Linked DNA regions of Homo sapiens: all the other regions are linked to region 1. Evidence: promoter capture Hi-C in 16 types of primary human blood cells and fetal thymus (Javierre and others, 2016). All regions are on one chromosome and are shown on one strand. Each heading gives the region's core, a stretch centred on a gene start or on the middle of the fragment in contact. The rest is flanking DNA. Distances are from core to core; before and after follow the strand shown. Region 1 holds the start of PLEKHG7 (pleckstrin homology and RhoGEF domain containing G7). Region 2 overlaps LOC105369896 (a long non-coding RNA gene). Region 3 overlaps LOC105369896 (a long non-coding RNA gene). Region 4 overlaps LOC105369896 (a long non-coding RNA gene). Region 5 overlaps LOC105369896 (a long non-coding RNA gene). Region 6 overlaps LOC105369896 (a long non-coding RNA gene). Region 7 overlaps LOC105369896 (a long non-coding RNA gene).

The links. The method cuts DNA at HindIII sites, captures the fragments that hold promoters and counts their contacts. A CHiCAGO score of 5 or more calls a contact.
Region 2: a contact is called between a fragment that was not itself captured here and the fragment with the promoter of PLEKHG7 in region 1, in 6 of 17 cell types (non-activated CD4 T cells, activated CD4 T cells, naive CD8 T cells and 3 more). The highest score is 12.8, in non-activated CD4 T cells.
Region 3: a fragment that was not itself captured here is called in contact with the fragment with the promoter of PLEKHG7 in region 1 in 4 of 17 cell types (activated CD4 T cells, non-activated CD4 T cells, naive CD8 T cells and 1 more); the score reaches 10.2 in activated CD4 T cells.
Region 4: a fragment that was not itself captured here is called in contact with the fragment with the promoter of PLEKHG7 in region 1 in 11 of 17 cell types (total CD4 T cells, non-activated CD4 T cells, naive CD4 T cells and 8 more); the score reaches 17.2 in total CD4 T cells.
Region 5: a fragment that was not itself captured here is called in contact with the fragment with the promoter of PLEKHG7 in region 1 in 4 of 17 cell types (non-activated CD4 T cells, naive CD8 T cells, activated CD4 T cells and 1 more); the score reaches 7.4 in non-activated CD4 T cells.
Region 6: a fragment that was not itself captured here is called in contact with the fragment with the promoter of PLEKHG7 in region 1 in 11 of 17 cell types (M2 macrophages, total CD4 T cells, total B cells and 8 more); the score reaches 10.4 in M2 macrophages.
Region 7: a contact is called between a fragment that was not itself captured here and the fragment with the promoter of PLEKHG7 in region 1, in 4 of 17 cell types (activated CD4 T cells, non-activated CD4 T cells, naive CD8 T cells and 1 more). The highest score is 7.7, in activated CD4 T cells.

The regions. Positions count from the first base shown.
Region 1 is chr12:92,700,177-92,704,384 of GRCh38, reverse strand. PLEKHG7 (pleckstrin homology and RhoGEF domain containing G7) reads right to left here and starts at 1,396. Exons shown (of 17, transcript NM_001377329.1): 1 at 1,253-1,396. RefSeq lists an enhancer at 1,196-1,255. The HindIII fragment of the contact is 11,169 bases long and covers 1,053-4,208 here.
Region 2 is chr12:91,418,945-91,422,733 of GRCh38, reverse strand. All of the region lies in intron 2 of LOC105369896 (a long non-coding RNA gene), which reads left to right. Among named protein-coding and RNA genes, the nearest start is that of LINC02823, 94 kb to the right of the region's middle. The HindIII fragment of the contact is 8,988 bases long and covers 1-3,789 here.
Region 3 is chr12:91,438,500-91,442,254 of GRCh38, reverse strand. All of the region lies in intron 2 of LOC105369896 (a long non-coding RNA gene), which reads left to right. Among named protein-coding and RNA genes, the nearest start is that of LINC02823, 110 kb to the right of the region's middle. The HindIII fragment of the contact is 2,536 bases long and covers 1-2,518 here.
Region 4 is chr12:91,395,717-91,400,031 of GRCh38, reverse strand. LOC105369896 (a long non-coding RNA gene) reads left to right here. Exons shown (of 9, transcript XR_001749251.2): 3 at 653-923; 4 at 1,195-2,318. Among named protein-coding and RNA genes, the nearest start is that of LINC02823, 71 kb to the right of the region's middle. The HindIII fragment of the contact is 1,421 bases long and covers 547-1,967 here.
Region 5 is chr12:91,477,851-91,481,574 of GRCh38, reverse strand. All of the region lies in intron 2 of LOC105369896 (a long non-coding RNA gene), which reads left to right. Among named protein-coding and RNA genes, the nearest start is that of LINC02823, 150 kb to the right of the region's middle. The HindIII fragment of the contact is 3,530 bases long and covers 130-3,659 here.
Region 6 is chr12:91,378,541-91,382,739 of GRCh38, reverse strand. All of the region lies in intron 4 of LOC105369896 (a long non-coding RNA gene), which reads left to right. Among named protein-coding and RNA genes, the nearest start is that of LINC02823, 54 kb to the right of the region's middle. RefSeq lists enhancers at 183-1,014, 1,015-1,848. The HindIII fragment of the contact is 1,701 bases long and covers 459-2,159 here.
Region 7 is chr12:91,455,401-91,459,366 of GRCh38, reverse strand. All of the region lies in intron 2 of LOC105369896 (a long non-coding RNA gene), which reads left to right. Among named protein-coding and RNA genes, the nearest start is that of LINC02823, 130 kb to the right of the region's middle. The HindIII fragment of the contact is 1,678 bases long and covers 678-2,355 here.

The sequences.
Region 1 (4,208 bases), core at 147-2,646:
CCATTGATAAAATAAGGTACATTGTTGCTACATGGAGAGGCCAGTTCCTCATTCTCCCAACAAACAAATGCTGAGCTGAGCATCAAATCTATAGGTACTTTCTTTCTTTTTTTTTTTCTTTTTAGAGATGGAGTCTGGCTCTGTCGCCCAGGCTGAGTGCAGAGGTGTGATCATATCGCACTGTAACCTCAAACTCCTAGCCTCACAGAATCCTCATGCTGCAGTGCTCCTGAGTAGTTGGGGCTATGGATGCTTACCACCCCACCCAGCTAATTTTGAATCAATAGGTACTTTCACACATACATACAATCAGGGCCGTTCTATTATTTTTCTCCTTTAGAAGACTGTCCAAGTTCTAGGCAGCAACAATGTTAAAGGAATTCAGTATATTTGCATAGGCACTTGCATAATAGTTAGATCAGATTTCTTAGTCTTTGGGTTTCCCCTCTGTCCTTCTGGCCTTTTCCTCTCCTCTTTTGAGGGGTTAGGATACGGCTTTGGGTTTCCTTTGTAGTCGTTCAGACACAGGGGTGTAGCTGCTGGTAGGAAGTTATTTATGGCCAATAGGATTCACATCGGTAAGAATTATTTATTAGCCACTGTCTTAAATATTGGAACCAAGGCAATAGTAACTGCCGACATGATGCACTGCGGAAATGGAGAAACTTTAAAAACAGCAGGGCTTAGGGAGGTGGTTTGCAGAAAGGCAGGAAGAGCTCAAGCACCAGAAGAAATGGGTCTGGTTTCTCTTCCAGTATCACCGCCAATTGGCTGTGTGACCTAGGACAAGCCACTTCTCCTCTGCCAACTGCCATGCAGCATTTACCAAGAGGACATCAAAGAACCTCCCTCACAGGCCTGTTGCAGAAATTAAATGAGATAATGGCTAAGGCTCCTGGGAAGCTTTCCCTAAATGACTACACCCAGTGGATCTGGTAGAATCAAAAGTTAACAAGTCAATCCATTCATGCTAACTCTTCTTTATGTTTAAAAGAGGAAATTAATACATGGTCACCATAAAGAAAATTCACCAACCTTTGACCTTCCAAGCTTTGAGAATCCAGCAAACACCCACCCACACTGTTGGGGAAGCCATCTCACTGTACTAGAAATGAAACCATTGCAGGTTAATGATTCACTAATTCTAATGAGACCTGGAGAGATCAGCAAAACAAGCGAAACTGATAGCAATAGGACAAAAGGAAAGTGCAAGAGAGAAACCCAGAAAGCAGCTGAATGTTGCCTTTAATACCTGTAAGATGGTCTGTCCCTGAAGGCAACTGCACCCAGGTGGGTCCCGAGGCTCCTCAGAACCCGCAGATCCAGAGTGAGCTGCCAGGCGAGGGCTCGGAGCAACAAGTTCCACACCTGTAACAATGCGTCCTCCTGGCTGAGTGAAAGCAACCTTGCTACCAGCTGCAATGAGGAACTGGTCTCTCCCCTCCTTAGAGACATTTCCAGTTATTTGTTTATGAAAAAGCCTAAAGGGAAGCCAGCTCAGAATCTAAGGCAGCCTAAGAACAAGTCAGGTAAACAACGGCTGATCAAATACAGAAATGATGCAAATGTAACTTTTTACTTCCTCTTGAGGCATTCAACAAATCATCACTCATAGTTCAGTGAAGCAGTTCTAGGTTTCTATTTCATTTATTTTCTCTAAGGTTGTGAGATGCATTCTTTGGGACTCTACTTTCTTCACATCATAAAACATTTTGTGTTGATCTATTTTATTAATGACTTGCTTTGATAAGCATTGAATAGTAGAGGAAATGATTAGAGCACCAGGGAGTGAATTTGTGAACATTAGTTTTCAAATAATTAAAATGCAAATGGAAGAGCATTTATATCTACCAGTATTCTCATTAGATCAGTACCCCAAAGAATATTTATTTGATGCCTAGGTGGAGATAATGCATATGTATGCAGCATTAAACAAAAATGTCTATAGACTTTCCCAAAACAAAGTTGAAGTAATTCTAATGAAGTCTAATTCACTGAAGTTTTCATTGATTGGACTCATTACAGATACTTACTGTGAAGGTTCCCTGAGGTCGGTAGTTCTTAAAGTAGGGTCCCTGGACCAGCAGTATCACTATGACTTGAGAACTTGTTAGAAAGGAAAAATCTTCCCCCTCCATGCTCTCCAACCCCTGGAACTCTGGGATGGGGTCAGAAGTCCGTGGTTTTTTTTTGAGACAGGGTCTCACTCTGTCACTCAGGCTGGAGTGCAGTGGCACGATCTCAGCTCACTGCAACCTCCACCTCCTGGGTTCAAGCGATTCTCCTACCTCAGCTTCCTGTGTAGCTGAGATTACAGGTGCACACCACCAGGGCCCGGCTAACTTTTGTATTTTTAGTACAGACGGGGTTTCACCATATTGGCCAGGCTGTCCGAACTCCTGACCTCAGGTGGTCCACCCACTTCGGCCTCCCAAAGTGCTGGGATTACAGGTGTGAGCCACTGTGCCCAGCCAGAAGTCTGTGTTTAACAAGACTTCCAGGTGATTCTTACATGGGTTAAAATTTGAGAACCACTGCCCTTAGAGGAAAAGAAAAAAAGGTCTAACTTATAGATGTTGGCCTTGTGATAAACTTTATATTAGTCTTTAATTCTCTCATATTGATCTTACTAGAACATCATTTACTTAGAACTTTGAAAAATGACTTGATCTCCTGCCCTCACCACCATTGCCAACATTACCATGACTCAACCAAAAGCAGGATATCAAAAAATATTTTGCCTGCATGGAGCCTGCATAAACAGTTCTGAGCTCCTGCCAAGGATGTCTAGAAGTGAATTGCTTCAATTTGGGAAGGAAAAAAATGAATAAAGTCTTTTAGCTTTTAGTTTGTGGAAGGAAGGTCATACTCTTTTCTACCAATCCCCTCACGCACATGGGATTGTAAAGCTGTCTCTCCTAGGGGATAATGATAATGGAATACTTGATCCCAATGCAAAAACTTCCAACCTCTGGTTGTAACTTCAAGAAGGAAATTAAGAGTCTTATAGAAAGGTCACAAAAGATTATCACGGAAAAAAATGTGCCACCTCCATCTGATTTGTCAAGGAGATGGCAACAGGGAGGCATTTTGGGTGGGGAAGGGACACCCCAGAGTCAGCTTTTCCTTTAAGAACCTGGGGCAACCTCACTGTGGCCCTTTCTCAGATGACACATGGAGGTGCTCTCCAATATCGCAGAGGGAGCAGCTCGCCTCAGCATTTTTTGCCTGTGTGTAGTTTTACGTTTATGTATGCTTTGCTTCAATAAAAAGTATACCTTAAAAAGTATGTCTATGCTAAAAGATGACATCCTGGTTTGCTTACTTTATGGCTTTGAATTGGCAAATTCCTAAAAGATATTTTCTTTCTAGTTGTTGAAAAGAGGTATGAGATTTATTTGAGCTTCCTTTTAGGTTTTAGGGCTACAAAAATTCAGTTGTACCATATTTACAATGATTAATATAGCTGGGCACAGTGGCTGATGCCTGTAATCCCAGCACTTTGGAAGGCCAAGGTGGGCAGACTGATTGAGCCCAGGAGTTTGGGACCAGCCTGGGCAACATGCTGAAACCCCGTCTCCACAAAAAATACAAAAATTAGTTGGGTGTGGTGTTGGGCACCTGTAGTCCCAGCTACTTGGGAGGCTGAAGTGGGAGGAATGCTTGGGCTGAGGTTGCAGTGAGCCGTGATCATGCCACTGTACTGCAGTCTGGGTGACAGAGAAAGATCCTGTCTCTCAAAAACAAACCAAAACAAAAAAAGGTGACTATCAGATTAATATCAATGCATCTTGATATCTTTCAATATTTCTGAGGTATTTATTTAGGAAAAGTTTCTAGGTAGTACATATTCTGAGCTGTTTCATACCCCAAAATGACTTTATTTTGCTATCACATGTGCAGGGCATGGAATTCTTGCAACATGGTATTTTCCTTTAAAGGTCTGTAGACATTTTTGCATGATTTCAGTCATTAATAGTTGAAATAGGAGGTCAATAGAATATTTACTCTTTGCTGGGTACCATACTCTTAAATTTTTTTTTACTTCTTTGTGAGATTGTGTATGTTCTATTGAAGTGTGAAATATATATATACACACACAATACAATAGAACATTATATATATATAATTTTATTGGGATTAGGTCTTGCTATATCAAGCTGATCTCAAACTCCTGGGCTCAAGTGGTCCTCTTGCCTTAGCCTCCC
Region 2 (3,789 bases), core at 377-2,876, 1.3 Mb after region 1:
TAAAATTTAATACATTTTATGAATTAATAAGCAAATTTCTTTTGAGGGGGTTTCAGCTCACAACACACTGTTTAATAAGGAACTCCATGGAGTCTCTTTTGAACAAATAAATATTTTTCTTTGTGAACACAATTTATGCTATGAGCCAGTGTCATGTGATTTCTGTGCAAACAGTACTATCTGTCATAATAAAAAGATGTTCAGATCTTTCTCAACAATTGTGTTTTGAAAAATCCTGATGCCTGATGAAGAGTGATCCAAGTTCTAGGAAATGCCAGCAATTAGGGATTATGAGAATACCAAACACGTGTGCTAAATAGATTACCTTGAACATTGCACACAATTCATAAACTATGTGGTGCCTTAAAAAACAGCAACAAAGAAACCAGCTAGATCCTGACTTCAAAGCAGAGCTAAGCCCAGTATCCTTGTGGTGCACATTAAGCCTGTGCATGGAGCAAAGGTGTGTTTCTCTTGGCTGTTATCTACTGTCATAAAGGCAGGATGCAGGACTCCCTGAGCTGCCATCCCATTCTGCCCACTCTCTCTGCTGTCTTACAGCATGAACAAGCAGGACCCAAGGCACCCAGAGGAAGGGACCACTTACCCCAATCCAGACCAGGAAGCGGCAACCTACTTGGTTGTATTTTCTCACAGAGAAAGAAGCAATATTCATTCTAATTTTGGTCACGCAACAGCTGAGTAAAACAAAGTATCACAGATGAAACACATTATGGTTAGTCCAAGACGTTTGTATTTTAAGGTAGTTGGCTTCTTGTCTCTCACCCTATGATGACCATTTCTGGCCACCTCTTTTCTCTAAATTTCCATTTTAGCATTTTGCAGCTAGGGTGGCTTTTACTCTTTTACTGAAATTGATAACCTCCAGCATGAAATTGTTTATCAAACTTCCCCTTTTTGGGGTGGGGTGGTGCTTAGCATATTTTCATTTCTCTAAACATTATTTTATAATTTTGGTTTGCAGTCTTGAAAGAAAAGTTTTTTAAACTTTGTTTTCTTCTGATTTTAAATAATCCTGTTTTCTGACAGGATTTATAGAAAAAATTTAGGAATTTAGAACTCCCAGATGTCATATCTGGATACAACAATTATTGTAGCACAATATATATTTATGCAAAAATTACAAAATTTTAGGACATCCCCACCCTAATTCCTAATAATTAGGTTCAACATCCAGATATTAGAAAGAAAACAAAATTGTAAATTTACTTAAGTATATATTGTGCTGAATACTCAGGAAGGTTTCTCAATATAAAGATTCAAGTTTTCCTCTGTCTCTGGAATATTGACTTATTGATTTATTTGTCTTCTATCATGGCACCAATGCTGCACTACCTTTATTACAATGCCTTTATAAAATCTAGAAGTCAGGTAGTGTTATTTCTTCAGTTTTGTTATTTTTCAAAATTGTCTTGGAAATCTAGGTCATTTGCATTTTCTATAAATTTTAAAATCAGCCTTTCAATTTTTTTTTTTTTAAGCCTTCTGGGATTTTTTTTTTTTTTTTTTTTTTTTTTTTTTTTTTGAGATGGAGTCTCACTCTGTCGCCCAGGTTGGAGTGTAGTGGCTCGATCTCAGCTCATTGTAACATCCGCCTCCTGGGTTCAAGTAATTCTTCTGCCTCAGCCTACCAAGTAGCTGGGATTACAAGCACACACCACCACTCCTGGCTAATTTTTGTATTTTTAGTAGAGGCGGGGTTTCGCCATGTTGGCCAGGCTGGTCACGAACTCCTGCCCTCATGTGATCCACCCGCCTCTGCCTCTCAAAGTGCTGGGATTACAAGTGTGAGCCACCACGCCTGGCCACCCTTTCTCTTTTTTACTTTCTGTGAATCACTACTGTCTATCCCTTCTTTGAAACTTCTTTTCCCCATTTAATTCCATGGGCAATATTTTCCTGGTTTTGCCCCCAACTCCTTTACACCAGCTGTAAAAGCTGGCATAATATTGCCTAAAATGTGTTCCAGAGAATACTACATCCTCAGGTTATTAATTGCCTAAAAAATACATACAACAATAATAAAAATATAATAAGAAAGACATTCAAATAAGTTTGGGCAACATGAACTCAAGATTCTTTGTTGTGAAGTCTTTAATATACTAATGTGCATTATGTATTATTTGGCAGGGGTTATGATATATGGTTTTATCAAACATACTTGTCTTAAAAATCTTATCCACGGGGAGTTTTGCAGAAACATTTAGAAATACTTTTCAAAACACCAACCTGGTGATATAATAACAAGTAATGGGGCATTAAAAATTGCCATGCCTAGCAGGGGGAATCTGAGTAATTCTGGTATCTTCCCATTCCTCAGTTTACTCATCTATTTTATTCTCCTACCATGTTTCCAATTTTTTCTGTAAAATTAGATTACATTTTGTTATTCAATGTAATATTAATTCATAATTTATCATCTTTACTGAACTACACATCTTTGTAACAGTTACAATGATCCTGAAATTTCAGCATCATATTACTTCACATGAGAGATATTTTCCTCAGAGCAGCTAATGAGATTACTTTTGGTTTATGATGTGTACTAAAAATAATTTTAGGAGAGAGAGCAGGGGTGAAAATGGTGTTAAGAAAGCAAAATCACCTTTGATGAAAGCATAACTCTGAATTACAAAACTGTTCCAACCTTCCATTGTGTGGTCAGAGGGAAACACTGGACCTCAAAGTACCAATTATGGGTTACAGCTGGCCTGTTCAAGATGACTAGAAGTACTCTGCATTAAGGATACAGGCAGAACATTGTGGTTAGACTTGGAGCTAGATATGCACTTAGAAAAACAGTTGGGTTAAACCAAACTCCCTCCACCTGAAAGGAGGGTGACTTCAAACTCAAGTGAAAGCATTAGTTTCCAGTTAACATGACAGAGTGGCCTAATCAATAATGAATTGCAATGAGTCCATGGGCCATTCTGCCTTTCTTGATCAATATGGTTTCTCACATCTTTATGGAGTGCTGGCAGAAGTGATGCTCCCTAACTCCCAAGGGAAAAGTTGGCAAGACACACCAAGGCCCACATTTAAAAAACCAAGAGAGTAGACACTATTATTCGGCATTTAAGAACCAAGGCAGGAGGGAGGGAGGAAACAAGCCACCATTAATTTAATATTATATTTTTCTGTGATGAAAATAAAACACAAGAGCATTTATGCTTGATAAATGAAGAGGGATAACAGTTTATATTTTGTGTTCATTTAACATGTATTTAACAAACTTTATACAGTGGTTTTTAACTTGGGCTTTTTGACTCACATTTTGCTTACTATTGACTTGCAAAATAAGTTTTCAATTTAGTTTTAATATAGAAAAGTTAGGTATTTAATATAAAATGAATATTAAATCATTTATCTAGAATCAAAAATGTGAGGTAACACGGAAGGAAATATAGTTTTTCCTTATAAGTATGTAAAGATATTTGATAGTTGTGCTGCCTGCTGGGTGTTTTAGAGCAATAAAATCTTTTCTACTATTTTTTGCCTATTTAACCACAATAAATGGCCTAGAGGTCAGCCTGCTCAGCTGCCATGGTGTGGAATCTTACAACATTTCAGGAAGACAAAATGTCTTTCATTTTAAAATCCTTATTCACTGTGATTTTGATATGAAAGATGTTACCAAAGTGTTGGGAGAGATTTCTATTGGAAAAGCTGATTATACATCCAGATCCTCAAAAGTATGCTTTAAGAAATTTATGGTTAAGGGATTAACATCTTAGAGCATGTGATGAACAATTTTATGAGTCAACTTGG
Region 3 (3,755 bases), core at 1-2,500, 1.3 Mb after region 1:
GCATCTAAATCCCATCACTCCTTTGTCACCCTCTAAGGAAACAGCATTATGTAAGCATCTGATTTGCATCATTGGGGCGGCCTTGATTTCTGAGAAAGCTGTTTGCAATTCAATAAGCTCCATGCACAGTGTTGCCTTTCATGTGATTCCTTATGGTGCTGTTGATAATGATCATAATACTTTTTTCCCCCAATGGAGAACACTGAATCAATGCCGAAAAATCAAACTTTTGTTTCTGTGTAAGCTAGAGGGCACATGAAGATTGAGAGAGAGAGAGAGAGAGAGAGAGAGAGAGAGAGAGAGAGATGAGCCTTCATATTTCATAATCTCTGACATAGATTAAGAAAGTTTCCCAACAGGTCACTAGATCAGATAGGGGCAATGTTGAATTGATAGCTTAAAAATGAAAGCTGCTACAGTTTGAAAAGTGAGAGAAGGAGGAAACATGAGAAAAGGGAGAGAAGGAGGAAAGGGGGAGAGAGAAAGAAAGAGACTGACAGAAAGAGACTGACAGAGACAGATGGAGAGAGAGACAGAAGACAAAGAAAAAATAGAAATTGTTGGCAAGGCTGGATCATGGGATGTAAAAGCAACTTTGCCATCCTTGAGAAGGTCAAAAGTTCGTATGAAAATTCATCAAATACTCATTTCGCTCATTCATTCTTCTTTGCCTTTTGAGTATACCGGTTATGCCACAGGATCTTGGAAAGCCTGGGATTTTCTTTCATTTCCCATTTTGAATAGGTAAATAACAACCACCTCCTTTCTGGTCCTGTAAATCTTAATTTTGTTTCCATCTGAGCTGAGTTGTTAAGAAGTTAATGATTTAGAACTGCTTCCTGCTTTGGCTTGCTTACTCTTTCATGGAAAAGTAAGTGAAGGGAGGCACTTCTTAATGTGACGGGCAAGGCTATGTGTCTCTAGGTTGGACTTCCCTTTTTTTTTTTTAATTCTTTCTAAATTTTATTTGAGATTCAAGTGATACATGTTTATGTTTGTTACATGAGTAAATTGCATGTCGCAGAGATTTGGTGTACAGATTATTTTTTCACCCAGGTAATGAGCATAGTACCCCATCAGTAGTTTTTCGATCCTCACTCCCCCCATCCTCCACCCTCAAGTAGTCCTAGTGTCTGTTGTTCTCTTCTTTGTATCCATGTGTACTCAAGGTTTAACTCCCACTTATAAGTGAGAACAGGCAGTATTTGTTTTTCTTTTCCTGTGCTAGTTTGTTTAGAACTATGGCCTTCAGCTCCATCCATGTTGCTGCAAAGGACATGATCTCGTTCCTTTTTATATGTTGGATTTTTGAAGTGATGTGGCTGTGGTGTTGGAAGTAACATTCAAATACAGATATCTCAGCAAATGTGAGATAAATGAGTAGCACTATTACTGATATCTGGGAGGACAAGGACGGAGAAATAATAAAAGCAATGACAAGGACGTTGAGAACAGGGTTCATGTGTTTCGAAGCAATTTCCACAAAGTTTAGTATAGAAAAAGGCACCAAAAAGATATTCCATGCTCATTATTACTTATTCAGAAACATGAAATAGACCATGTGTGGTGGCTCACACCTGTAATCCCAGCACTTTGAGAGGCCGAGGCAGGCAGATCAGCTGAGGTCAGGAGTTCAAGACCAGTCTGGCCCACATGGTGAATCCTCGTCTCTACTAAAAATACAAAAATTAGCTGGGTGTGGTGGCAGGCGCCTGTAATCCTAGCTATTGTAACCCCAATTACTTGGGAGACTGAGGAATGAGAATCACTTGAACCCAGGAGACGGAGGTTGCAGTGAGCTGAGATCACAACACTGCACTCCAGCCTGGGTAACAGAGCAAAACTCTGTCAAAAAAAATAAAATAAAATGAAACAAAATAAAATAAAATAATTGCCCTGTAATAAACACAAGAACAAAATAAGATTTCTAATATAAAGTTGCTTACAGTCAAGCAGGGGTGACACAGGTGAGCCAATATAAATAACTCTAACATGTTCTCCTCACACAACTTTTATGTCATTTTTTCCAAATGACATGAAATATTTTGAAAATATGAAAAATATAAAGTAGATTTTCTCAATTTGACATTATTGCCATTTTGAGCCAGGTAGTTTTTGTGGCTGTCCTCCTGTGTATTGTAGGATGATGAACAGTGTCTTTGGTCTCTATGCAACTAGAAGCCAGTAGAACCAACCCAAAGTATATCCAGACATTAGCAAATGTTCCTTGGGCAAAATGGCCCTGATTGAGAAACCAAGTTTGTTGTGGTTGTTGTTGTTGCTATTCTTTGGATTTTTGCTGTATCCACTTTTATATTTCATTATATATGCAATAAAAGTGGCAGGTTGATAAACTTCTCCTGAAAGCCATTCTCTCCTTTTTCTGTAGCCATATAAGCTGACCTGAGCACATAGCCATGCCATTAGGGGCTACATATATCAACTTCCTTTACAGGTAGATGTACTCATATGATCATGTTTAATAACTAAGTGAAGAGATGAATAGCACTTCTAAGCTTTAGCATTAAAATAAAAAGCATGCTCTCTTCTGCCTCTACTTTCTTTACTATTTCCGGCTGGAACAATGACAGGGATGACCCAGCTTCAACAATGCAAGAATGGTAACTCTCTAGAACACAGAAAAACAAGGAGATGGAATTACTTTGTCAGTGACAGATTGCCTGAATTACTTTTTGAAACAGAAGAGCCTCATCAGCATCAACCATCCACCTTGAGATGTTTTGGGATCTCTTTGTTACAGAAAGTTAGCCTTTATCCTAACAGCTGTAGAATATATGTATAATTTTATGCACATATATAATTTATACATATTTTATGTTAGGATTATCCAGAGAAACCGACCCAATTGTGTGTGTGTGTGTATATGTGTGTGTGTGTGTGTGTGTGTGTGTGTGTATATGTGTGTGTGTGTGTGTGTGTGTGTATATATATATGAAGAGAGAGATTTTATTACAAGAGATTGCCTTTCACAGTTATGGAAATTGAGAAGTCCTACAATCTGCCAGCTGCAAGCTGCAGGCCTGGGAAAGCTAGTGGCGAAGTTCCAGTCCAAACCTGAAGGCTAGAGAACCAGGGAAGCCAATCCAAAGGCTCAAAAATCAGAAGCACTGATGTCCAAGGGCAGGGGAAGATGAATTTCCTAGCAAGCAGAGAGAGCAAATTTGCCCTTCCTCCACCTTTTTGTTCTATCTCTCAGTGGACTAAAGGATTCCCATCCACGTTAATGAGGGCATCTTCCCCACTCAGTCAAACAATCCAAATGCTAATCTCTTCTGCAAACACCTTCACAGACACACCCAGAAATGATGTATTATTAGCTGTCTGTGCATCCCTTAGCCCAGTAAGGTTGACACATGAAATTACCCATCACACAGACATACACACATATGATCAATGTGCAAAATTTTTGTTAGGCAAGACATTTTGGAAGAGCAAACTATGTAAGTAGATGCATGTCTATATTAGAATATCTCTTAAAAAGCTCCAGGAACTCTGGAGGCTGAGGCAGGAGAATGGTGTGAACCCGGGAGGCTGAGATTGCAGTGAGCCGAGATCGCACCACTGCACTCCAGCCTGGGCGACAGAGCGAGACTCCGTCTCAAAAAAAAAAAAAAAAAGCTGTAGGAACCTAGGTAATGGAGTGATTTTTTGCCAGTGTGGTTTTCTGGGCCTTAGATGATGAATCAGAGTTTGCCAGAAAGGGTAATGAACCAAGGAAGTACTGCTCTCTGGTT
Region 4 (4,315 bases), core at 8-2,507, 1.3 Mb after region 1:
AAACTGGAAGATAATAAGATAAAGGATAAAAAGATAATAATAGAGGAAGAGTGAGAAAAGCAAAAAATTGTGAGAAGTTTATTACAAAATGGGTATTGATGGTTTCTTTAATTTCATACTTTTGGAGTTATTTTGTATTTTGCTGAAAGGTTTAGCTGTTTGAACAAATTATTGCCATGACTCTTATCAGTCAGACGTCTTTAGGGCAGTCATGGAGGTATTTGGCTCAGATCTACCTTCAAGAGAAAACCTGTCAAAAGGAAGACAAATTAGATAACAGCCTCCAGGTGCAAGTATGCCTCAAATTTGAACCAAGACCTTATGATACCCAGACATTTTTCAGCCAATGAGTATGGCAGGGGTACAACAGAACCTCAATTTTCAGGCACAGGACTCCTCAAAGAGCAGTCCTCCTAAAGGAGATCCCCATCATGTTGGCTGGGATTTTGTCAGAGCTGCAGTGCTGTGTGAGGCTCATCCTATCCAATCTTCTGGCTTCCTTCTCACCTTTCATAGGAGCCAGGCCTTTACTACAGTGTGAAAGCTTCCTTTGGATGTTCCTGCCTTCTTTGCCTTTACATGTTTAAAAGGTATTATTCTCCAATAATTTTTTTTTTGCACTTCTAACTCAATCTTGGCTTTCCCTTTCTAGAAAAACCAAGTGACATTAATTGATACTGGACACAATCTGTGATATCAGTGATTAAGTTGGAGTTATGCAAGTGGATCATTTGCCACCAACCAGAAAATAAGGATTCCTTTCAAGTGGATGTGGGATATGAATATTTTTTGGCACAAGACAGTAGTTCAATTGGTAAAAATTTCATCAATGGTGACTTTGGAGAATGTCATGTTGCAGGTGAATGTCCTAACCAGGACAATATTCATGCATTTGAAAAATCCAGCGTGAGAAACATAGAAAGGTAATGAAATTGACTAATTATTACTAAGTTGCATTTGTGGGACAATGAAAATTGAATACGTTGCATTTGTGGGATGATGAAAAATTGAGCATTGTTAACAAAAGCCCAAATGTAAGTGTAAAAGCCAGAAGGCATCTTGGGCAGCCTATAAAGTGTTTTTATCTTTTGCAAAGAGAGAGAGTGGCCATAGCTGGAGAGGAAATTCAGGATCTGCTGTTTAGGGCCACTGAGCTGCAAAGATGATTGGATGCTCATAGAGGAATTTTCTTAGGCTAAGGTCAGAGATCTGCTTGGGAAAACTTGAGGCATTAAAATATTGGAAGAGGACATCTGGGTAAATTTCCCCAAGGATCTACAACTTGAGAGCCTAAAGAATTGACCCACCATTCTCTATGAAGAGCTAGACATTTTCTCATGCAAGAAGATACTTCAGAGGCCACTTTCACATAAGATAAATGGTATGTTTATCAGGAATTACTCCCACTTTTTCTCTAGGCTTCTAGGCTAAAAATCATGGCTAAATTCCAGCATAACCCAGCTGAGGGATAAAAACATACTGGGACTGATAAGTAAGAAAAGAGATAATCATTTCATTAAGTTCAATAATTAGCTAGTATGTGCTTTCAGGATTCAGAATAGTATCCATGAGATTGGATGTTTGAGTATGCCGTGGTTTGAATGTATCCTTCAAAATTCATATGTTGGAAACTTAAGTCCCAGTGCAACAGTGTTGAGAGGTGAGAACTTTAAAAAGTAGTTAGATCATGAGGGCTGTGAACCCTGAAAGAGCCAATCCTTTAAGATGGAACCTGAGTGGCTAACTGGGCCTAAATTCAAACGGGAGCTGAGTTCCATTTGCTGACCAGACATTACACATGCACTCTTCATTCTTGGAAAAACCACATATTGGTATAACTGTGAGATTCTCATATCTGCCTATTTCTGTTTATACTCCTGAGCCAATGGTTACCATCACTTTGATCTAACCAATAGCCTGTGACCCACAGTGAAACTTAACCTCAACCAGCTGAAACTAAGCAAGCTTGCATCCCTCATTTGCACAGCATAGCATAGTGGGAACCTCAGCAGGAACTTTTTCTATAAAGGACAACCCCTGTCTTTGTTCTGGTAGAACACATCTTTGTTTTGTATTGAAGGCTGTGTATCCCCCGTTCACAAACCGCTTGTGGAAATAAAGCCTCTTTAAATCTGATACTTCTTTTTCAGTAGTCTTGTTAACAAGACTCTGTCCTCATTAATGCATTAGTACCATTATTGCAGGAATGAGTTTCTGATAAAAAGATGAATTTTACTTCCTTCCCTCTGTTTTGCATGTGCTCTCTTGCCCTTCTGCCTTCTCCATGGGATGACACAGGAAGAAGACCATCACCAGAGGTAAGCCCTCGATCTTGAACTTCCTAGCCTCCAAAAATGTATGAAATATGTTTCCTGTAAATTACCCAGTCTCAGTTATTCTGTTATAACAGCACAAAATAGACTAAAACAGAGTACTTGCTCACCAGGGCTAGCACTTATGAGTAGAAATGCTAAAGTTTTCTGTTTATTTTTTTTCTTTTTAAACTTGGGGGACTTCTCTTGAAAGACGGGATTTAATGCCCTGACAAAGACCATAGAGCATGGGAAAGATTGGATGCTAGAGTAGGCCTCAGAAACCTGGAGAAAGACTTGGTGAGTTGAAATGTCTGAACTACTAGAGAAGGTAGCAGAGGCATAAAAGGAGTAAAAGAAGGAGGAGTAAAAGGCTCAGGAGGGTGAGTATACAATTTGTGATGCCAGGAAACCCAGCAGAGGAATATACTCCATGAAAGCCCAGTGGATGCATAGTCCACAAAAGGTATAAGGAAAGTGCTGGTGAGACAGATACCAGATACACTAATATTTTCTGTCATGGCTCTTTTCTGAAAGGCTGACAGTAGGAGAGATTGTCACATAGCTTAACTTGTTAATAGCAATGGAGATGATAGAGACCTGAAGACATTGAGCATAGATGGCAGTGCTTACCTGCTGGAAATTAGGAGGTTGCAATGACCATATATGGGTGGCATGAGTGGAGGGCACTGAAGAGTGTTTCATATCTAGAGAGTTTTATTCTTTTCTATGCCATCAGCAAAAAATATTTTTTTAAAGTTTTCATTCACATGGAATCTTCAACTATAAATTTACATTTTTGTCTCTTAGCTATGTTAAGTCTCCTGCCGTCTGTCATACTCCAAAGAGATCAAAACTATGAGGACATCCCTCAGAACATAGCCTTGCTCCATTGCACTCAAACTGATCCAGGAAGAAATAGGTAGTAAGCTCAAAGCCTTGGTAGACATGGGCTCAGAGTGAGATAAAACCTTTGAAAAATAAGAGACCTGCCATTTCTGTTAAGATTTTAGGTATCCCATGTCCCCCAGTAAATAGGGTCATCCCCTTTAAAAAGTAAAAGATAAATTGATTTAGCTTGCATCCCTACCACAAAGTAAGAAGCACAAAACTTTGTAGCTCTTCAAGCTCTGTATGCAAGCTATTCCATACCTAAGAATAGTCTTTGGCCCATATGCTGTGTAACACAAAAGGCTATCAGTTTTGAACAGAATGTGAGCAGATAAAGGCTGTTTAGCAGATCCAGGTTACATTGCAAACATCCCTGCTGCTTGGGTCATATAATCCAGCAGACTTTGTGCTCTTGGAAGAGTTGATTGTGGGTAAAATCTAGAGTACATACCAAGAGTTAGTGGGAAAATTACAACATTCATTTATTAAGTTCTGGAACAAGATCATTCCTCCTACAGTAGATGTATTAGTCCATTTCTATACTACTATAAATAAATATCCAAGACTGGGTAATTTATAAAGGAAAGAGGTTTAATTGACTCACAGTTCCACATAGCTGGGGATGCCTCAGGAAACTTAACAATTATGGCAGAAGAGGAAGCAAGCACCTTCATCACAAGGTGGCAAGAGAGAGAAGAATGAAGAAGGAAGGCCTAAACACTTGCAGAACCAGTAGACCTCGTGAGAACTCACTGACTATCATGAGAACAACATGGAGAAAACCATCCCCATGATCCAATCACTTCCTTTCCTCGACACGTGGGGATTACAATTCGAGATGACATTTGGGTGGGGATGCAGAGCCAAACCATATAATTCCACCCTTGGCCCCTGTCAAATCTCATGTCTTTTCACATTTCAAAACCAATCATTCCTTCCCAACAGTAGCGTAAAGACTTAACTCATTTCATCATTAACTCAAAAATCCACAGTCCAAAGTCTCATCTGAGGCAAAGGCAAGTCCTTTCTGACTATGATCCTGTAAAATCAAAAGCTAGTTAATTACTTTCTAGATATAATGGGAGTATAGGAATTGCATAAATGCTCCCATT
Region 5 (3,724 bases), core at 645-3,144, 1.2 Mb after region 1:
ATTTTGTTTATGCCTGCTGTCAAAATACCATCTCTAAATACAAAAGTTGTATGTTTTGATTTCTGCTGAAAGCTTTGCTCTCTTCCAATACATTCTATGAAATGTTGCAAAGACTGTGATACTTAAGCTTTCTCTTTCTCTGAGAATTCTGAGTCTCAGTTTTCTTTGCTATCTGCATTCTCTATTAGGTTTATTATTTCTGATGAGAATGCTGTTTTAAGTATAATTTCCCTTGAAAAGTTCCCATCAGAAATGAATCCCTCATTGTGTAAAATATAGCCACTGTTATATTTCCTTTCTGTCTCCAGCAACAGTAGTTTAGAAGTACTCCAGGGAACTAATGGTTTAAGCATTCCTTGTCAAATATCATGTGAGTAACACTAATATAATTGTTTTTCTATCAGATGGCTTTGTAACATAATTCAGGTACTTTCTACAACTACTTTCAAGGCAGTGTCTACACAACATCATACTTCTGAATAAAGAGCAGGAAAATCTATTTCATTTTGAAACAAAAACAATCAGTTTTATATTTTGAAATTATTTATGAGATTATATTCCTTCCTAAGTGACTTAAGGTTAGATATAAAGTGTATGTGGTAATATTTAATTTAGAACAAATTGAGGTTAGTGGGTATAACTTGACCCTAAAAATTCAATTCAACAATCATTTTTCAAGTGAATACTATGTGCAAGGAGTCCTAGGATTTATAGGGAACCTAGTTCTGGTTATTTTTTCTAAAGGTTCTAAAACTAAAAAGGATGAAAAGCTACATAGGTAAAAAACCGAAACAGGGGGCCAAGCTATGGCCTGGTCTCTGCTTCCTGCTGCAGTGCGGACTTCCTTTAGCAGGTAGGATGAATTCTCAGGACCTATATTTTGCCACTTGACTCAAGGAGTTGAGGCTGAAGGAGCCTAAAGGACCCCACGCAGGATCTCACAGTTTGAGGGGAAGATGAAGGAGGATAGAGCGGGAAGAGCAGCTTGGAGTCTGTCAGAGACTGGTCCCCAAGACTGACTCCACTGACTTTCCAAACAATAAGTGACCATTTGACATTATGGAGTATAATATACACAAATGACTGCATATATTTTCCACTAAATCCTTTCCTTACAGGGAAGTCTTTCTAGTTTTTGTTCTACAGTTATTCTAAAATTAGTCAAGAAAAAGAAAATAATTTTCCTGACACATGAACACAGATTTGAAGGCTGAGCAGACTGCTGGTAACCAAAGCATAGAATAATTTTCAGAAGAATACTTATATTTAATATTACCCTAACAGTATCAGAAATGTCTCTTATGAAAATATCTTCTGTACTTACTATCAAAAGAGAATCACTTCAGCTACATTGAGACGAGCTATGAGCAGGAAAGGAAGTTGCTGGATTTAATGCAGGATCCTACAATACATGTTCACAAGTTACATACTTTCATGCCTAGGTGGGAAATTGGACACGCAGAGGGAAACAGGGACATTTTTCTGTTTCTGTGTGAACCACAGAGGATTTTGGGAAATACAATGCTGTTTTGGCCTATGATTGATCTGTAGCTTTGGGGCAGTCAAGAAGGGGTGCTGATAAAGAATGTGGCCAGTGCCACATGCTAGAAAAGAGGATTTGTGTGTTAAGTGAGAACCATCTGAGACTCTTCAGATGGAACCGAGAAAGACTTTGAAGGAAGCTAAAGAGTCTGCTACTTAGCAGGAGCAGACTATTATTGCTACTAGTCTGGTCCCATTTATATTCACAGGCTGGTAAAGCCCAGCAAGACCTGCTTATATAATGGAAGGTGAACTGTAAGCTCCATGGGGGCGGGGCCCAAGCCTGTCTAGTTTCATTATATTACCCAGAAGACACAGGACTATTTGGGGAAATGTCAAATATTTCCATTTAGGTGGTATGCTGGGTACATGAAAAATTGTAATGAGAAGAATATTAGAAAGAGCAGATGGAAATAGAATGTGGAGAATGTCGAATACCACCGTAAGGACTTGAGCTTTCTTCCATAGTAATTGGTAGCTGTTGAAGGTGTTTGACCAGGAGATTGACAGAGGGATGTCGGGTCCCTCAGTCTTCCACATTTTGTAGCTTATATTTTGCTTCACCCTATGTTGAAATGTAAATACATGCACAGGAAAAGGAATTAAGTCTTTCAGTCATGACATATATACTACATTGAGAGAAACTAGCTCTTTTTTTCAATTTATAGTTATGGGGTTTATATAAACAAATTTCATTGATGTTACTTTGCCTTGTTGAACAGAATAGAGCTTTAACAGGAGAAACAACCATCTTCTGAATTCCAAAGAACCTTGAATTCTCATGTCTTTCTAGGTGTGTTCCTCTAAGGTCTAGAATTTGTTAATTGCTATGATGTCTTCGCCAAGAAGACTGGTCTGTGTGGCTACTTTCAGGACAACTATTGTCAATCAACATCTGCAGAGACAATGACAAAACAGCCTCACTACATACCTAGGCAGCTTCTGTTCTCAAAATAAATGATCTCAGCTGTTTCAAAAAATAAAATAGTAAATACGACCATCATCCAAGTTTCCATTCTGTACCATTCCATTCTGTACCATTCCATTAAATCTGTTGACGAATTATATCCATATTTAAATACTCTTATGGATAAAAGCAGAAATGTGTCAGGATAATCAGCAAAAATGTAAAAATCAGAGTGAATTGATAACTTAGTTGTTATATTGGTTATGGCACAATGTCATAGGGAAAAAATGAGCTTCAGGGTCAGAGAGTTTTGTGTTCCAATCTGAATTTGAACACTTACGAGCTCTGTATCTCTGGGAAAGCCATTTAATTTTTCTGAACTTTAGAATATCTTCTATACAATTAAGATAAAAATGCTTATTAATCAGATTTTCATTGATTAAATAAAACATGGAAAAATACATTATACAGTGACTTGCAGATGCTCTAGACAAACTGAGTTGTCATTTTATGTCCTTTCTATCCTACATCAGATAACTGTTTTGAATGATATTTTTAAATGAAAGTTATTAGAGTTTTTTTTCTTAGCAACATTTATACATTATAGTGTTTATATCTATCTACCATCAAAATGAATTTGAGGTAATTTAAATCATTAGAAAAACAGGAAACATTTATTAAAAAATACTTAAATTAACATACAGAATAAATCTCTGCAGGAAGATAAGAAAACAACTGGCATGAAGTAAAAACTGAAGTTCTTCATCATAGCTTTGAAAGTCATGCACAACATACAGCAAAACCTACCTTTCTGTGCTTATTTCACACTTTGTCCTAACACACATCTTCTGCTCCAATCAAAGCAGACCATTTGATAAGCCCTACATATCTCATTTGCTTTTCTTTTCTACCTGAAATGCTTTCTCTTCCTACCCCAAAACTTGAACGAAAACTCAGCCAAAATGTTCATGCAAAACGCTCATCTCTTTTATACAGATTATAGAGTTCCAGACCTGAATGTTTCTTTTCCTCCTTTGCCTCCCCTTAATTCTGTCTTCAGGAACCATCAATGGTTATTGTCCTATCCACCTTGTTTGTTCATTGGCCTTAGCTTCTCTCCCTACAACAAGAACTCTGGACTGTCCCCCTGCCTAAAGGATGGATTGAACCATTTATCTCTCTCTCTTCTGCAGCATCCAGTACAGAAGCTTCCTTATTTTTATTATTCACTTTATATTTGTTAAATTGTAGTAAATGGGAATTTAATACTAAACT
Region 6 (4,199 bases), core at 60-2,559, 1.3 Mb after region 1:
GTTTATCATAAAAGCTATATTCAAGGGAAAAAGTTACATTGAATCCATAGTTTTCTGGGAGGAGAACATGGGAACAGTCTGTTTGTGACCTGTATTTCTCTGCCAACTTCAGGACTTGGTAACCTATACAGGTTTCCTATGTGAGAGGTTAAAGTGTGGGTCCTTCTGTTTCCTAAAAAGGAAGCCTATAAAGCACCACATCATCTTTTAATTATTTTCCATACAATAAAGCCAGTTTAAGGCCATGAAATGGCCTATGAGCTCCTATGTGTTATGTAACATTTTCAGTGGTTACTGTAGCAACATTTTGTCCTTTATGGCATTTCATTTCCATATAAAGTAATCTGCATTGTTATGGGATGCTTTGTCCCATAGTGATGACCATAAACCATGCTCAAGGGTCTCAAACACTGACTCCCCACTCCCTTTTGTTCTACCTGAAAGGCGCCTACTAAGCTTCTTCTTTTAGTGACTATTAAAGGGGGAAGGATGCCCTGAAGAGGTTCGTCCGCTGTCCAACAGCGACCCCTAGAGGCACAATGCCTTGAAAGTGGCCAAAACCTCCAAAACTTCAATGCTTTTCTCCAATCAAGTGCTGCTGTAATTTGCTTACCTTGAGAACTATCACAGCATTAATCAAGACCTGCCTTTACTCTGAAAACATGGGCTGCTTTTGGTGCCCAAAAACGAAAGCCCAAAGTTTCGGGAGCTTTACTACCTACTATCTACTACACATACATTTGTTTTCTCTTTGTGAGATTTAAGGGAACCGTGGAAGAATTGCTTTTTATTCATCATCAAATAAGCATAATAACAAATTTGGGCATAGTCAAGATACAACGCCTTTGATGGCTTTTCGTTAGTTTTTTGTTTTTGTTTTGTTTTGTTTTTCGCTTGAAAAATAAGTTAAAATCTCAGGAAGAAAGAAAGAAAATCCTAGCGCTTTTTCTTTTCTGAGCTTGCAACTGTTTGTAGCTCAGGCACCCGGATGATTCATCCCATGAAAGCCTTGAGCGCTCCATTTGTTTTGTAGATTTCACTACTCCCTTTGTTCCGCTTCAAACCTTTCAGAGGGCTGAAATGCATTATTACCTTGTTAAAGCTCAACCAAAATCATTTCTACAGCCTGAAGCTGTTTTGACGTGGGTTGAGTATCTCACACAAAAGAATTGCTTTTGTTCCCAGAAGCTCTTATTGGCTGAGTGGCCTTTGCTCTGAGCCAATCAGAAGCTAGTTGTTAGGCTTGGCTGGCTATTTTTAGCCCAACACGCAAAAACACTTGGTCTTGGAGGGGGTCGGCTGGAGAGTGAAAGGCCCTGTAGTAAAAGCCAACAGCTAAATGCATTTTGGATGTCAAGGCGCGTTTGACATTTTCTCTTTAATTCCTCATACGCTGTTACATTAGCATGTGTTTTTCGTAAACAACAAACTTAGAGCTGCATTTCCCAGTCCTGAATTATCCATTTAGTAAAGAGACAGAAAGGCTAAGAAACAGCATTCCCCTTTTATCCAAAAGCAACGCACGGTAGTATCTAGTTATTTCATAACGCAAAAAAAAAAAAGTCAGTTACCGTATTGAGAATACTAAGGTGTTTTTGCCAAAGAATTTTTATGAATTTTCATCTTGAGTTAGAAATTTTCAATGCCTTGCTCATAATGAATTATAGAGTCCTAAAATAATCTTTTCCTCTTGCCCTTTAAATATGTATATAATTACACGAACGAGTATACACATGATGTGTAGCAATTAAAATAATAAATGCTGAGTGTGTTTCATGCATTGAGAAAAAGCATTCTTTTGAGCATGTTCTTCCATTTAAGCCATTACTCAGAGGGCACAAGAAGTATTTTTCCCAAATGCGCTTCAAGAGACAGGGCATTAAAACACACAATTTGTTAATTATCCGATATTATCAGGAAATGAAAGTTGCCAAACGGGAAAAGCCAGGCTCTTAAACTTTGATTTTCCCTCAGCAGTCTATTCAACTGGGCTTATATAAGGAGGAGACAAGCTGAACCCAAATTTTACAACACAAAGCAATTTTTATTGGCAGCAAGGGAGACCCCTTCCTGAAAAAGAAAGAAAAAACCCAAATCTATGTCTAATTCTTAAAATATGTTTCAGGTTGTAGATTTTAGCAATATTTATTATTCAAGCTTGGGAATATGACCTCATTTGCCATGGTTGTTTGCTTATTTTAAGAAAAATGCCTTTCTACTTCTTGTTGCAAGCCATCAGGCAACCATTTAAACATGCAAGCAAAAAGTCTGGATCATGGGCATATTTAAAAATCTGGAAGACTTCAATAAGTTGTAAAGATTTACGATTCCATCGTGGGCTTGCAGAAGGGGTTTGCTGTGGCCTTCTGTGAGCAAGGGCGGCCTAGTATATGGTGGGCATAGGCCAAAGAACTTACCAAAAATTCTACCAGAGTGAAGGGAGCACAAATAGTTTTGGGGGAAAACTTTCCTTGTCTTAAGCAATACCGTATACAGTGTTTAGAAGGAATGTCACCTAGGTTTCAGAAGGTGAATTTGAAAGGCTGAAATAAAGTACTTTAGAAAGAGGTATCTTTTTCTTTCCAACATCAATTTGATGCACACAGGGACAGATTTTGAGAAGCTCTGTAATTGCTCCCAGGAGTTGAGTTAGGTTGAGGTAGTCAACCAGCTGCTAACAATTTAGTTTAATATGCAGTCTTAGTAAATTAAAGGAATCTGATAAATTGAGACCCAGCATGATTCTTATTTGTTTGCTATGGCATAACATGTTGAACGCCAGCAGAAATTAACCCATTGAAATTTTTCTACTCAAGGCCCCCATTTTATTTTCTCACTTTCCTGTGTCAGATGTTTTTGCTCCAGACTTGGTCATCTGAGCAATTCCTTAGTTTTATGCTTATCTACTTAAAAAATATATATATAACAATAATACAAATTCTAGAATCATGCTTATTTTCAGTTTTCTCTCTGTGTTTGTATTTAAACTCCTTGAAGGTAAAAATAAATAAATAAATGAGTCTGTTACTCCTCTTGTGTGTTAACCTTTCTACTTCACATGTAGATCATCTTAAACATGCTTGATGTAGATTTTGTTTTCTGTGGGAGCTGAGACACTTGTGGGAGGAGAAATGTGCAATTTTGTACTTGGCTACATCCCCAGAGGAGTGGTGACCAGAAAAGGGAAAGACAGCTTGCCAGATACCTAAAGGATAAATGAGATATTGAGCTACTGGAAACACCAAAATTTACCATTGATTCTTTCTACACACTAAACTGTTACTTGTGATAGTAGTTGTAAAAAACTGCATGTTTATTAACCGAAAGGTGATTGTTCTAACATTCACTGGGAAAGAGTGAAATGGTTGGAATAACACTTTAGCACTCATACCTAAAGATTTGCAAAGCCAAAATGCCAGGCAAAATTAAAACAGGCTAAATTCATATGTACAAAAGAGCTGTAATTCTTTTATGATGAAATAGATATTTTCTTAGAAGCAACAGTTTCCTGTGTTCTGTAAAGTAAGCCAAGTCAGTAATGGGTAACTCTGGCATCTCCTGCTCTCCTCTCACCTCATGGATGCCAGGCTTTCGAGTTGTATTTCAATTCTCCCTTACATTGTGGCCTCTTTGCCTCACTCCCAAATTCCTCATACCTCTTCCAAACTTGCAGTTAGGAGTGAATATAGGATCCTCCTCCTCCTCCTCTTTCTCTCTCTGTCTTTAGATTAAACTGAAAACATGGCAGCTTTTTCCAAAATTATTCATTCTTTGTCAGGTGTGTGTGTATGTGTCTTATTGTGCCATTGAAAATAAGAATGTGGAGGGTGCCTTACTATGCCATAGAACAATTTATTGTGTTTCTGGGTTGCCATCTTTTCAATCTGATTAATTTATGGTCCCATAGAGAATCTCTGGTGTGAATTATGTTAGCTTTGTTGAGTCCACTGTGCAGAAAGTCAGTTTGTATCAATATTCTTCTAGGCTTAACAGTTTCTCCTTAAAAGGCTTAATAATTGCCTGTCATTTGTCTCTTGGCCCATTTTTATCTTGGAAATGATTGGCTGTTAGGCAGACCATTTGTGTAATATTACTATAAAAGCCTTAAAACATGGGAAGAAAATTAGAATCATATGTGTATATACTAGGTTAGTAATGAATAAAGTGCTTTTCTACAAAATTTTGAGGACCTTTTAGGA
Region 7 (3,966 bases), core at 267-2,766, 1.2 Mb after region 1:
ACAGATATTTAGTTACATCATGGCTGACTTCTTTCTTTGTCTTCTTGTGATAAGGGCTGAAGCATATTTCTTTGCCCACTTGACAAGTTTATACCAATTTCTGAGGTTACTTTGAACCACATAATATGTATTTAAAATCCAGTTTTTCCTTGTCTGGGATGAGTATGGAAAGAGGCGGTTTGTTTTTTAATATTATTTCTTCACTAAATAACATTGAGTAGGTGATATCAAGCATCAGAGCAATTTCATATGACTCCAATCTCACCCCATGTCATGAATAATATGTGAATTAAATTCTGGTGTTCAGGAGTTTTTTAATCCATATGCTATTTCATAGAATCATGGATAAATAGAATCAGAAGGAAATTCCAATCCTGTGGTTTTGGAATGGAATTCCCTTTTCAAAAATCAATCTTGTGTAGAAGCCCTATACATAAAATGATATAAGCTGAGCTCCTTCACTGACTGGGTAAGAGGCTACTGAGTTTCCCCATGCAATTCACGTGTCCCATTACATCTTTATCCATGTAGGCTCTTGAGCATCTCAACAGAATACAAGAGGCCCTCAGAAGACACTGCAAATGCAATTCCAGTTTCTGTCATATTACAAATAAATCAACAAAAACCTGAAGACATGAAGCAACTTGTCACAAATGAGGGTCACAGAACACAAAGCTTTGTACATGTTAAGTCTCAAAATATTAGTTGCCAGGGTGGATGTTATATTAATTAGTGAATGAGGCATACCTACAAATCCGGGGCATTTTTCACATCAGAATTACTATTGTTGTTTAATAGAATGTTGTCTTCATTTGTCTGAAAATGTTCAAAGGAAAGTGCAAGAGGAGAATGGTGTTGTGAAAATAAACACCCAAAAGCCTATGAATAGGGCAAAGAACTTACAAAACATTTGGAAGAGCTCTTAGTACAATATCTTGAGGGGACTGCAAACTATTCAGTCCAAGTACCATTGTCGCACAGGCCTGGTGGGCCTCTGGCTGCCACTAAAACCATGAATGCTTTATTGTGTACATCATCCCAGAGGACGAGAGGTATTTCCCAAGAACAAGAGCTATGGCTAACTCTAGGATCGGGTTGAAGGTATACTGGACCTTCAATTTAGAGGATCTATCAGATAGACTGTAGTTGAGTTTTATAATGCCACACAAATTACCAGGCATAGAAAGCTCTAGACAGTCTAGGATCCCTGGATGTTCTAATTGTTTGAGCACTGCAGTGTGCTGTAGCACATATTCTTACTTCATATTATTTTAAATACTTGATTTAACCAGATCACTGATTTCCTTTATTGGAAGAAGACATTTCCTCTTTCTATGCTTTAGTTATCCCATAACACAAGAGATGTTATACCAGCATTTAATAGAAAGACAAAATAAGTTACCACAATATGAAAATGGTATGCTTATTACAACAACCATGAGAGGACTGTAGAAAATGCAGTAAGACTTTTGCTGGGTTTCAAAATTTCATTTAACATCTGAAAGTTGAGACAACGAAGAAGTATTGTTACTTATCTAAAAAGAAGCAGCAGATCTATCCTCAAATGGCCAGACTAGTTCAGTCATCATACCTCCCAGTAGCCAATGTAAATGTAGGTTAGAGGGTTGTTGAAGAGCATAGTTGATGAGCAAATCTGGTAGGTATATATAAGACTATCACATTCCCTTTTCTCTCTAGTCTGGTAAGGTTGTCTCCCAATAACCACCCAGAGAGATCAGAATTTGTGTTAAAAGGGGAGATTAATGTTTCACTAACATGTTGTTAATTCCTTGCTTGATGCTTGGCAGCAACAAAAATGCCTAAGTCTGCTCATGTTGATATAGAACAGATATCTCCAGCTTGGAGTTATCTTCTGGAGTTTGCAGAGGCAGAGAATGATGCTTGTGTCTTGCCTGAAGAGTTCTGAATGCTGGAGGTTGCCTAGAGTAGGTCTCAATGGCAGCCCGTAGAAAAAGAATGCAATGAATTGGCCTCACTCCTGAAGTTTGTCAGGGCCAGCTGGTATGCGTTTTCACATGGACCACCTGAAGACCTAGTAAATTAGGCAGGCTTGAATATTTTTGAAAGGACTCAGATGCCTGCCAAGAGGAAAAATGGACCATTTTCCTTTTTTTGCCAGGAGAGAAGGGTGAGTTGTGAAACGTCTCCCAGAGGGTCTATTACCTACATCATGAAATGGTGCAGCGCAGAGATACCCAGCAACAGAGGAGGGGCTTTTGCCACTTTACTTTGCACCCTTTCTTAGCTCCTGACCACAGAATAGTTAGAAGCAGTGTGAGGAGGAGGTAAAAGAAACAGATTTTCAGAGCAGATCAAGAACAGGAAAGAAAAGCTTTTTCTACTTTTGGTCTCTATGAGCCCTAAGTAAGCCCACACAAAGAGAGCAAAGTCATATTTGAAGTCAGCAGGGAGAAGAAAGAATAAATGGCGACTTTATTTACTCTATTGAAGATAGACTGTTTAGTATGCTAGTTATCCTTGTTTTGCGTTGAAGAACACTGAAATGCAGAAAGAGGAGTGACCAAAGGGCACAGAGGTAGGAGATCACAGAGCCAGGAGTCTTGTGACTCCAAAATAAATTTCTTGAGAGAATGCCACATTCCCTCTATAGAGAGGCTGCAAAGAAATTGAATGTAATACATATATTCCATGCTGTCTTTGTCTTCGGCATTTCAACTTATATTTTAGAAGGATGAGATTGAACATTGGGAATGAGACATCCCGACACTGTCTGGGTTACTGTGAGTAAGTGACTTCACCTCCTGAAGCCTTTTTTTTTTTTTTTTTTTTTTTTGAGACAGAGTCTCGCTCTGTCGCCCAGGCTGGAGTGCAGTGGCGCAATCTTGGCTCACTGCAAACTCCGCCTCCTGGGTTCACGCCATTCTCCTGCCTCAGCCTCCGGAGTAGCTCGGACTACAGGCGCTCGCCACCAGGCTGGCTAATTTTGTTTTGTATTTTTAGTAGAGACGGAGTTTCATCGTGTTAGCCAGGATCTGAAGCCTTCTTTTTTTATTTATAAAATGAAGAGATTGGATCAACTTAGCTACAAATTCCCTTTCAGATTTTACGAAGATATAAACATAGCTAAAAGAGGGGGGAAAGGGAAGGGAGGGATGAGGAGAGGGAGAGCGGGAAAGGGAGGGGAGTGGAGAGGGAAAACATGCAAGTGCAAGGAAGATCCTGTATTCATTGTGTTAGCTGGATATTTTACACCTTAAATTTGCATTTTTTTTTCTGGAGAGTCAGAGAATTGAATTAGAACTTCAAAAATTGGCTTTGTTTCCATATTCTCTGCCTCCTCCTCATCATTTCTTTTACAGGCATTGCTAAGCTGATTTTATAATAATAATAATAATAATAATAATAATAAATCACATACTTTTCAAAGCTGGAAACACTTCTACCTCTCTGACATACTTTCAGTTGTGGACAGTAAATTCTTCAACCTCTGAAAGCACCCCCCAAAACTGGATTCCCAGGAGAAATAGTGTTATGGAGTTTTTTTAAAAAAACGCAATATGTGAATGAGACTGGGAGATTGTAATCTCGGATATGTTTGTTGCTGCAGCTTTCAATCCTGTCACAATAGGTGTCATGAAGATGAATAAAGTTGGTGCCATCTTCTGTTTTCATTATCATCCAAGGGGCTGGGATCGGAAAGGCTTCATTTTGTGCCACTGTCATTTCTCATTACTATCTTTGTCATGAGAGTGAATTATAACAGCCCTCAGATGCCAGCCATGGCTTTGCTCTCATTACAGACTTTCATTCTTGGGACGAAGACGGTAATAAGAGTGGAATGTCGTGTAAAAACAGAGCTCACTTTCATGACAGTTGGAAATTGGTGATGAAAATGGAAAATGGCAGAAAAAATTAATCCTTTTTTTGTGGCAAAAATTGCCCTGCAAACAGCATCGTACACCAAAGGTATCCTTTACTGTGGCA